2 separate regions of the Homo sapiens genome follow, and region 1 is linked to region 2. Evidence: promoter capture Hi-C in human tissues and cell types (Jung and others, 2019). All regions are on one chromosome and are shown on one strand. The core of a region is centred on a gene start or on the middle of the fragment in contact, and the rest is flanking DNA. Distances in the headings are between cores, read along the strand shown. Region 1 has its middle 360 kb from the start of BCKDHB. Region 2 holds the start of ELOVL4 (ELOVL fatty acid elongase 4).

What was found. Contacts are between HindIII fragments. The study calls those that stand out against the background at their distance.
Region 1: a contact is called between a fragment that was not itself captured here and the fragment with the promoter of ELOVL4 in region 2, in 1 of the 25 tissues and cell types used here (aorta).

What each region holds. Positions count from the first base shown.
Region 1 is chr6:80,460,050-80,465,243 of GRCh38, forward strand. It overlaps a transcript of BCKDHB not described here. Among named protein-coding and RNA genes, the nearest start is that of BCKDHB, 360 kb to the left of the region's middle. The HindIII fragment of the contact is 3,155 bases long and covers 1,293-4,447 here.
Region 2 is chr6:79,944,832-79,949,867 of GRCh38, forward strand. It overlaps ELOVL4 (ELOVL fatty acid elongase 4), which reads right to left and starts at 2,722. Exons shown (of 6, transcript NM_022726.4): 1 at 2,349-2,722. The coding sequence starts at 2,448. It overlaps LOC124901350, which reads right to left and starts at 4,802. Exons shown (of 2, transcript XM_047419628.1): 1 at 4,737-4,802; 2 at 2,556-3,180. The coding sequence starts at 2,984. The coding sequence ends at 2,556. LOC124901351 (a long non-coding RNA gene) reads left to right here and starts at 2,974. Exons shown (of 3, transcript XR_007059656.1): 1 at 2,974-3,096. RefSeq lists a silencer at 2,782-2,831. The HindIII fragment of the contact is 11,635 bases long and covers 1-5,036 here.

The sequences.
Region 1 (5,194 bases), core at 1,620-4,119, 520 kb after region 2:
GATTTTACCCCAATGGCTTCCATATTAGAAAAGATGTAAGAAATATCCTTACTAAATATACATTTTTAAGTCTTCAAGATATATCTAAATGATGAAGCAATATTTAACAGCAAGAACCTTTGAACTTTCTGGAAAAAACAAATTTTATTTTTCCAATTGAGATATCACAAGTAATACTGAGCATGTCTTGCACAACTCCAAATCAAAGATAATGTATTTAAGACAATAATAAAATTGTCCATGATATCCTTTAGGAATAAACGTGGAGAAAACTTTTCTTAATTATAAATGGATATTGCTGAACAAAACAAATACTAATGCAGAGGCACTTGCTTTACATTTCCCAGTGAACTCTATTTGACCTTCACTTTAAGGGCACACAGCAGGAAAGCTGTCTGGAATACCCCACCCTAAACAGTGAATAAATTTATTACATCTCTGAGTAAAGAATGCCCAAGCATTGGCTCACAACTTGATAAAGGAAGCAAAACAAAAATAGCCCAAGCCCTTTTTGTTCAGGAAAAGTTCAGTTTTTAGGTTTATCCTCAAAACATTGAAGTTGAAGAGACTTGGAGCTCCCTGACTTAGTGGTATATTTCAGTTATGAATAATAAGAGACATGAAGCATTTGTTACTATTGTAAAAACCTGATGAGCTCTATCCCACAGTGACTCAAAACTCTGCTGAGTTAATACTTTTGGAACAAGACTGATCTTGGCTTGAAATTACACTGAGTTAAGTGGACACTTTTTAGACCTTATCTTTCTTGACTGCTCTGCAAACTTTGACATTGTTGACTGAACTCTTCTCTGTGAAAGTCTTCCTTCTCTGTGAAACTCTTCAGCAGAGCTGAACTCTTCCTTGGCATCTGAGATTCCTCACTCTCAAAGAGATTCTCCACTCTACCTTATGATGGCTCTTGACCAATCTCTTAATAGTTGGTCTTGCTGAGATTTTGTCGTGATCTTGTTAGAATTAAACACTAAACGCATAGTCTCTTGGTGACGTAATCTATTTATGAGATCAACTACTACATATGGGATAAAGAATTTAAAAATCAATTATATTCTGAGATCAAAATCTCTATTTCCAACACCTCACTAGATTTTTTTACTTGGATGTTCTTCTGGTATCCCACATTTAATGTGTCCAAACTGAACCCATTATGTTCTGCCCTGCTTCTCCTATTCTTCCTGTTTCCATAAATGCTACCACCTAGTTGCCTCATTCAAAAACCATTCTTGAGTCCACCTTCATTTTTTCCCACAAATAATCAATATCCAAGACTGTGTCTATATTCTAATCCTCTCTCATCTTATCCATATCTGGTCATATTCATTGTCAGTGTCTCAGTTCAGGCTCCCATTGTCTGTTTCTTGATCACTGCCTTAGACTCCTAACTGGTTTTCCCTGACTCTTTTCTCTATGCTTCAGAGTTTTACAAAGTGTTACAAAATAGACATCTGATCATTTCTTTCACCTGATGAAAACTCTCCCCAAATTTGCTATCATCCTAATCATAAAGTCAAACTTGTAAGCAAGTAAAGAAGTCCTGGATGCTCTGATTTCTTTTTATTTTTTAATCTCTCTAGCTTTAGTGTTTTCCATCTTTCCTCTTGTACTCTACCCTATGGCCATATTAAAATACTTGAAATTGTTCAATGAGCCATTTTCTGTTTTTCCTCTGGGTCTTTGCCTATGCCCTTCCTTCTTCCTGGAATAATCTCTTTGTTGGTCTCATTGTTTGTCTGGCTTCTAATACACAAACAGTTGTCCTTATGATGTAAATGTGGAGAAAACCAACAGATGACAGCAAAATTTACCTGAAAATGAAGCAAAGAAATGAGGAGTTTAAAAGACAGAGAAGAACTGCCTTTAATCAAATGCTTGGAGATTTTGAACTTCTTATATTTTGATTACCAATGTACTTTTTTTTTCAAATGTATAAAGGTACTGGATTTTCCTAGCCCTTTCTGTTTATTTCATGTTCCTATCCATAAAAAATAAAAAGTGGTTTGACTATTTTCAAGGCATAAAAGAAAAACAACTATTACCTTTAAGCATATACTGTAGCATTAAACACATATTGTCTCTTTTCAATTCTAGGCCTAAGTTAGGAGTTCTTTCTTGTTACTTCTATGAGATCTGATGCATTTATATTTCATGATACTTATGAAAAAATATTTTCAATGCCTATTTACTTATCTTTCTCCTTCAAGAGTTATTTGAGGGCATGAGCTATATCTTTTCAACATCATATCCCTAATGTCTTTCTCAATAGTTGGTACATGGTAGGCACTCAACAGATATGTTTTAGAATTAACTAATTAATTGTGGAATTATAACCCAAGAAGAAGAAGATGCTTCAAATATCGTGCATTATTTCAGAGTCACTAAGCATCAGATGAGGATTTCTGGGCAACTTTTCTTAGCTGATGTGCCTTCAGCTCACATCCAGACATGGGAATGATAGAGAGATAATAGACAATTAATTTTAGGTTACAGTAGCCACAAACTGGGCCCTGAAAGCACATAGCCAGTGTTTCAGGAGTCTTCTCCGTGCCCTTCTAAGTGAGTATGAGAGAGAACTTTTATGGTTCTTGAAGGCATTATGGCCCCCATAATCTCTGAAGCCAGGGAAATACTTAATTCCACATTCATGGCTTTTGGGAATTCAAGTAGAATCCAGAATGTTGGACCTGATGCTCCATGAATTTGTGGGAATCAAATCAAGGTTGTCAGTGGTTACAGAGTGCCAAGAGGACTTGATATTTCCATAGATTTTCTTCTTCCAAATGAAGCTTGAAATTATTTGTCTATAGTTCTGCCGGAGGCCTCTCCAGATTGTGATGCACTGGGAGCAAGCCACCATGAACATATCCTCAGGTCTCCAGTCTTCTGCCATCGCATGAAAAATGGAGCTTGTCAAACACAGAGCAGAGCTGAACTTTCTGAATTCCACAGGACAGTTCAGAGTGCTTGGAATGACACCCACCTGCAATTTAAACAAAAAAGAAGGATGAGTAAGTGAGGAGCTAAAAATTGCATGTTTCCCTAAATTAGATTTATTTGTAAGCTTTAAGTAAGTGCAAACATATTTCGAATTATCTGTTATGAATTGTGGTTTTGTTATTAAATAGACATTTTGTTTAATTCTTATGTGCAAAGTGAAAAGAGACTTGTTTTGCTGGATTTTTCTTTTTGGTAAGTATTGAATTTTGAAGGGGTACTAGTTTTTCTAGCCAAATTGAAAAATTTCTCAGAATTTAAAGGATACTCCATGTGAGTTCAAGCTGTGTTAGGGTTTGGCTACATATTTTTCTTTGGCAATGAAAAGTATGTTTGATTCTTATGACTTGGTAGACTTCAAACAGGCTCACACACAAACTGTTGTCCTTATAAGGTAGATGTGGAGGAAACCAACATATGAGAGTGAAATTTATCTCAAAGCAAAGAAGTGAGGAGTTTAAAAGATAGAGAAATGCCTTTGATTAGATTCTCTGAGGTTTTGAGCTTCTAATATTTTGATTTTCAATATACTTTTTTTTTTCCAAAATTTGAAAGGTTCTGGGATTTCTTAGCCCTTGTTGTTTGTTTAAAGTTCCTATCCATAACTAATAGAAAGAAAGTGGTTTGGCTATGTTCAAGGCTTAAAAGAAAAACAGCTACCACCCATAAGCATCTATTATATGCCATAACATTGAACACATATTGTCTCATTTAATTTTCCTGGCCTCGTCACACTACAGTATTATCTTCCTCACTTTACATATGGGAATAATGAAACTCAGACAGGTAAAGTGATGTACACAAAGGCATGCAGTTAGTAAGTTTTGGGCCTTGTCCATCTGCTGTTCCCTATGTCTGAAATATTGTGTCCAGCATTCCCTTGGGCTCATTCCTCCTACCTTCCCTACTTTCTTTGAATAACTCCTATATCCTTCAAAGCACAGTCTCTGGTTTTCCACCACCACTCCAGTCTTAGTTAGGTGCCCTCCCACTTTCTACCCGACCGAGTCTGCCTGCATCAAACACAGATTACAAGTGCATTGAGTCTCTCTCATCTTTAAATCTTTATTATTATTATTATTCTTTTGAAGTGGAGTCTCACTCTGTCACCCAGGCTGGAGTGCAGTGGCGCGATCTTGGCTCACTGCAACCTCTGTCTCCTGGGTTCAAGTGATTCTCCTGCCTCGGCCTCCTGAGTACTGGGACCACAGGCATGTGTCACCACGCCCGGCTAATTTTTTTGTATTTTTAGTAGAGATGGGGTTTCACCATATTTGTCAGGCTGGTGTTGAACTCCTTAGCTCATGATCCACCCACCTCGGCCTCCCAAAGTGCTGGGATTGCAGGTGTGAGCCACTGCACCCAGCCTCATCTTTAAATCTTTAGTGATTCACTTAGCTCTACTAATTATTATTTGTGAAATAAAATTTTAAATTAGTAACTTCCTTAGAATTTCTATGAATAATTGCTCAATTGCCTTATCTGAAAAGAAAACCTTAATATCTAATAAAAATTCCTCTCCTCAGTCTTGCCCAATGGAGGCCATTCACTGAACAGTTGAAAGGAGACTGCTTGCCCTTTATTCCTCACACTTCTTTCATACTATTCTTCCAACATAACCATTAAATTTCACCTCAGAAGAAAGGCCACAATATTCATTATACTGCTCTTCCACATTTGCAGTACATCTTAGTTTCTGTATTCTAGGATAGTGAAGATAGAGCCTCAGGTAAGAATTAAGTGCTAGTGCTTTATTGGGAGTTAAATCCCAGGAGAGTGAGAACAAGAGAAAAGGTAAGTGGTGCAGCCAAGAAAGGTGAAGCATTACCCCTCCATTGGCTTCTTCACAAAGCAGGGCAAAGAGCACCTACTGTTATTTGGTAGGTGCCTACACTCAGTCATACAGGACTTCTTTATGCAGGCTGATTGGAGAAAGTAAGACAGAGGAAATTGAGCTGCCCAGGTTTTTTTCCCTGCCTCTCTTTGGCCAAGATAGCACCAGAGAGTGTTAACTACCTTGCATTCCAGTTTGGGTCATTCAGCTCCTTTAGCAGCCTCCTGGGAAGCCAGATGCACTCCCTGTGGTGGCATTTCCCCAAATGTAGAAGAGATGAGAGGAGTCAGAGACTGTGGGCTTAAAGTGGTTAGTTTTAAAAGGCTGACTGCATAGCCCTGCATTGGTAGT
Region 2 (5,036 bases), core at 1,472-3,971:
TCCCGCCCATTTCTGTTTCCCCTTCTTTCCAAACATTTGACTCACCAACTTTTGTTTAACCTCATCTTATAAGCTACTTTTCTATTTTGATATCCCCCACCCAGATTTTCATCAAATTATGCTGAGAGGTGGAATCAGAGCAGAGTGAATGAGTCCAAAAAAAAAAAAAAAAAAAAAAAAGGAACACGAGGGGCATAGAATGAGGGAGAGTAAACGTAAATGGGACACCACAGACTTCAGGTCTATTCGGCCTGGACCTGAAAAATACTCCTCCTCACACAGCAGTACAGCAGAACAGACTATATCCACTAAGCCTCTCTGTTGGTTAAGAAATACCATCTGCCTACATAAGGTAGCTCATTACAGAAAGCAAGGAAGCAGTCTCAGGTTTCGTAAGTGGATAGTCAAAGCATAGGCAAATACCTTCCTTCGGCCTGCTAGTGAGAGGTCACTTGTGTTCTAAGGCTACTCTCACTTCTCAGGCTTGGCCCACAATATTATATTATTTTATATGCCCTTCGAAGCCTAGTAGCAAGCTTTCACATGCGGCAACTGCACAAAATTTCCTGTTTCATTTGTGTGTGTGTGGTTTCTTTTACACAAACATCATCAGGAAGGAATTCACCATCACAGAAAGGTGTATTCTACCTTTGCCCTCAATTTTTCCTTCTGAGACTCAAGAGATGGGAAAGCTCCGGGATAGGATAGGAATGACAGGACCGAGAACTCCTGGGTGTGGCTCTGGCTATATGGAGACTGGAGTATCTCAACAGTGTCTGACTCCTAGGTGTGCGAAGTGCAATTACCTGCTAAAGAACTTGTCTGATGTTCAGCTCTATACAATTGTGTAATGGGAAGCCCTGATGCAACGTTTAAAGAACCGAAATCACAGACGTGAAGGGAAGGGCACATCTTTCCCAGTTTTTGCAGGTACAGTGTAACATCAGTGTAATAGCGCATAGAAACAAAAAAAAAAACTGAAGAAACACTCCATTGAAAACTGCCTTTTAACCATTTTCAGCTGTAATGGCTTATTAAATAGCTTATTTCCCAGTGTCAAAGTTGAGATCTTCTGAAAAAGAACATACTTTTCTAAAGAAGTGAATGCAGTATTAATGCCAAATAATCATTTTGTCTCTCACAAAAATAATTCCAGCATACGTTTTTCCCAAAACATAAGCCCTATGTATCGGACTACATTCATGCTGTAACCACTGTCTAATTTCCTCTAACAACAATGAACACAAAAACTACAGGAGTACATTTTCATTTCGAAGTAGGGAAGGCAGAGTCATAAGATGGAACGTTAATATCCTTCACTGATAGGATGCAGTGTGATACTGCAAAAGGACCAGAAAAATTGACCTCGTAAAATCATTTCTGAAATCCTTTAAACCTTATTTTAGATTTCAAAGACTTTTAAATGCTTTAAAATCAAAAGCAGCGAAGCAAATGAAGAAATAAACAGTACAATGTAAAAATATAATATCACAGTTGGACGCTAGGAAAGCTGCATAAATCAAACAATTGACAGCCCTGCCAAATTAACTGCAACAGCTAAAGAAAAGTTTGCTGATTTAAGAACTGTATATATGTAGGCATCTGGGACAACCTCTAGGTGTTGCTGTAGAGACCCCCTTCCTAAAGACTGATTTCTTCCCCGGTGTTTTGGCCTCCCCCTCCCCCTGACTGCACTGCAGTGCGCAAAGCCATTATAGACAATCACTTCAAACATATTTGCTGTTGAAAATGCCTCGGAAACTAACATTCTTCAAGGTTCAAGGAGCCAAACAATATTATTTTACTTTTCAGTCCGAATTATACTATAGATGAAGGAGCTAGATAGAAGAAAAGATTAGCAGGGTTCTGTCAAAGCGACCAGGAGGCTGAAGAAACCTCCTGTACCTTCAGCTGCCCCTGAAGCCCTCCTTCCTCCCCAGCCCGCTCTCCATACAAAATAGGACTAAATGTTAAAAGGAATCCTGTGCACGGGGAAGAGGGAGGCGAGCTCGGGAGATGTGGGAGCACAGGGTGGGGCGGCTCCTGCGAGGAGCTCCTGGCTGCACAGGCTCCATCTGATATGTCAGCTCCCGCATCCGAGAGCTGATGAGAGATGGAGGGAGCTCAGAAGAAAACCCTGCGAGTGTCGGGGGAGGGGAGGCCTTAACATTCGGATCAGATTAACCAGTGCTCAACCGCAGTGCCCGCGCCGGCCCCTCCGCTGATCCGCAGCATCCGAAAGCCGCAGGGCGCGGGGGCCTGTGGGGCCGGGCCCGGGAGCTGCGAGACCAGGGGCCGGTGACCCCCCGCGGGGGACCGAGCGAGGATGGGGAAGTCAGCGGCTTTACCTGCGATGGACCAGGTCCAGCGGTAGAACTCTACCGTGTCGTTGAGTGCCGTGGACACTACGTTTAGGACACTACCCGGCTCCGAGTCCAGGAGCCCCATCGCGGCGATGAGCGGGCGCTGGCGGCAGGAGAAAGCGGAGACCCAGAGAGAGGGCTGACCCCGGAGGCGGTGGCGGCCGACGGGGCGAGCGGCGGCCGGGAACCCCTCTAACGGCGGCGGCCCGGCTGCGTCTTCTCCTGCTCCTCAAGGCGCCGCGGCGGCGGGGATGCGGCAGAAGGCAGGGCCAAGCGGAAGGCGTCGTCAAGGTTCCCGGGAGAAAGACGAGGAGGTGGAGGAGGCCCAGCCGCCAGCACAGTGCGCTGCACCAGTCTGCAGCCTCGCGCAGCCGCCCCTCCAATCTCCTCAGCCGGCGTCACGTGGCCGCGCGCGGGGGCGGGGGGCCGGCCGCCCCTCCTCCCTCCCTCCCTCCCTAGTATTGGGACTCGCTGGCGTAGGGATGCTGCGCTCAAGGGTGCGACGCCAACTGGGCTCGCGCAGGCGCGCGCCGTCGAGCGGGAGCGGGACACCTGGGCTCCTCCTTGGCCCCTCCCCGCACAAGTCGCCTCATTAGCCTTCCCCGCCCCTGTCCCGGGCATCGGCCCCTGCGGAGGAGTTCACCGCCTCCCCACGGGTGATTTCTTATCCGCCCCGGATACGTCCTGGGAAACAGGACACGGGAAGAATGGGTGTTCTGTGGGCAAAGATGAGGTAGGCGTGGTGCTTTGGTCCTTACCTGACACTCACCTCGATTTCACTTGTGTTCCTGTTTCTTTGACCTCCACCAGCACATGCCTGTCACCATGACAAGAGAAGTGCATGTGTTATGCCTCTGAAGAAGTGAAGGGTATTTGTCTTCCATGCTTCAGCGATGGAGAATAGACTTTGGGGTCGACCCATGAACAAATCAACATATAATTGCATGAATGCTTGCATGTGTTTTGTAGACTCTTTTACTATACATGGAATGAACAAAGCAATATAATTGTGCTAAATTAGGCCATTAGTAGTTCAGAGAAGAGGGAGAACCGAGAGGGGCTTACAGGTGAAGTCCGCTTGAACCTGAAGAAGTTGAGGTGAATCTGAAAAAGATAATCGCTCAAGAGGCAAAGGGCAATTTAGTGTAGAGAGGAAAACAAAGTAATTGTGGCTATTTTGAAAAATTGTTTAGATAAGGTATAGGAGAGCCTACCCTTGAAAAGTAAAAAAAATACAGTACTTGGAATTCATAATTTGATGGTTTCTCACATAAAACAAGATTTTTGAGAATAGTCCTTTCATCTACTTGTTTTTTAAATGTGTCACCTACTTGTTTAACCTTTTCTCCACTTGCTCATTTTGGATGCTACATTTTAAAGACCAGTGAGTCAAGTGTCTTATTGTTCCTGCCCTTTCACACTGTTAATGTGAATACTATCTTTTATCATACTGAAATGATCTATTTCCCAATTGACCTGGTTATATATTGTCTATATTTTATATTGGAAGCATCCTAGATGGTAAGAATTATTTTTGGTTGCTTGATGAGTACCTAACCCAGTGCTATAAACAGTAATTAATAAATATTTATGATGACAAAAATATAACATGTCTTTCAGAGAATAATAAGGATTATTGTGAGTGGCAGGAACTTTATTGCCGAACTAAAGCAAACACAGACTTCTTTAAATGCCCTATTCTTGAAATTAACCAAATAAAATGTTAATTTATTAATTTGTCAAATATATTTGCAAATCTAAAGTTTTCTGGATTGGAATGACAATTTCTCAAGTCTCAATCCTAAATTATGTGTAACAGATTCTAGTAGCTATATAAAAAAAAGAAATCCAGTCAAGTCTCTTCATTTAGGGAGTGGATAAATACCCATTCATTTACAGTGATGATCTAACAAAGTTCGGATTAGTTCGAGCTTCACCTAAAAATTTGATTACTATTTCTATATTGTGGAATCCTGGAGTTTTTAGGGAGAACAGATCTCTACCCATACTTCCATTCACACACGCAAAACTGCAGCATAATACTTAATACAAGGAGAAATTGTTAAAACAGCTTCAGGTATTTCCCTGGTATTTCTTCTACCGTGGAGGTCAACTTAAGTCCCTATTCACTAGGGGGTGCCAGTCACGTATAAGAAAATCATAGATGAGATAACCTTCAGCTGGGAATGGCGGTCACACGGATATCACCGTGTCCACACTCCACCTGTAAGAGTAGAATGTTTATTTACATTTATAAGCTGTCTAAACATATACCAAGAACCAGAACATAAAACTTACCCAATCTGGAACCCTATTACCTGGCATGAATAAGTGGTTTGTAAATACCAGTGACTGCCCAGAACCAAAGCCTACCTTGTTTAGTTGTGCAAAGGGAGGGAAACCCGCATGTCTGCCACCTAGAATAACAGCCATCTAACCAAAATCTTGGTAGCATCATAACAGAGTAAAAGCAAATACAAGCAACAACAGCATCTGCAAACTTTGAGAACAGAGTTCTTTCATGTGGATCAAATGCAAATAGGATACAGTTACCTACAAAACCTAAAGGAGAGGACATTTTATCATAAATTTTTTTGTATAAAATAGCAATATTTTTTTCTTTTTAGAAACAGGGTCTCACTCTATCAGCTAGGCTGGATTGCAGTGGTGTAA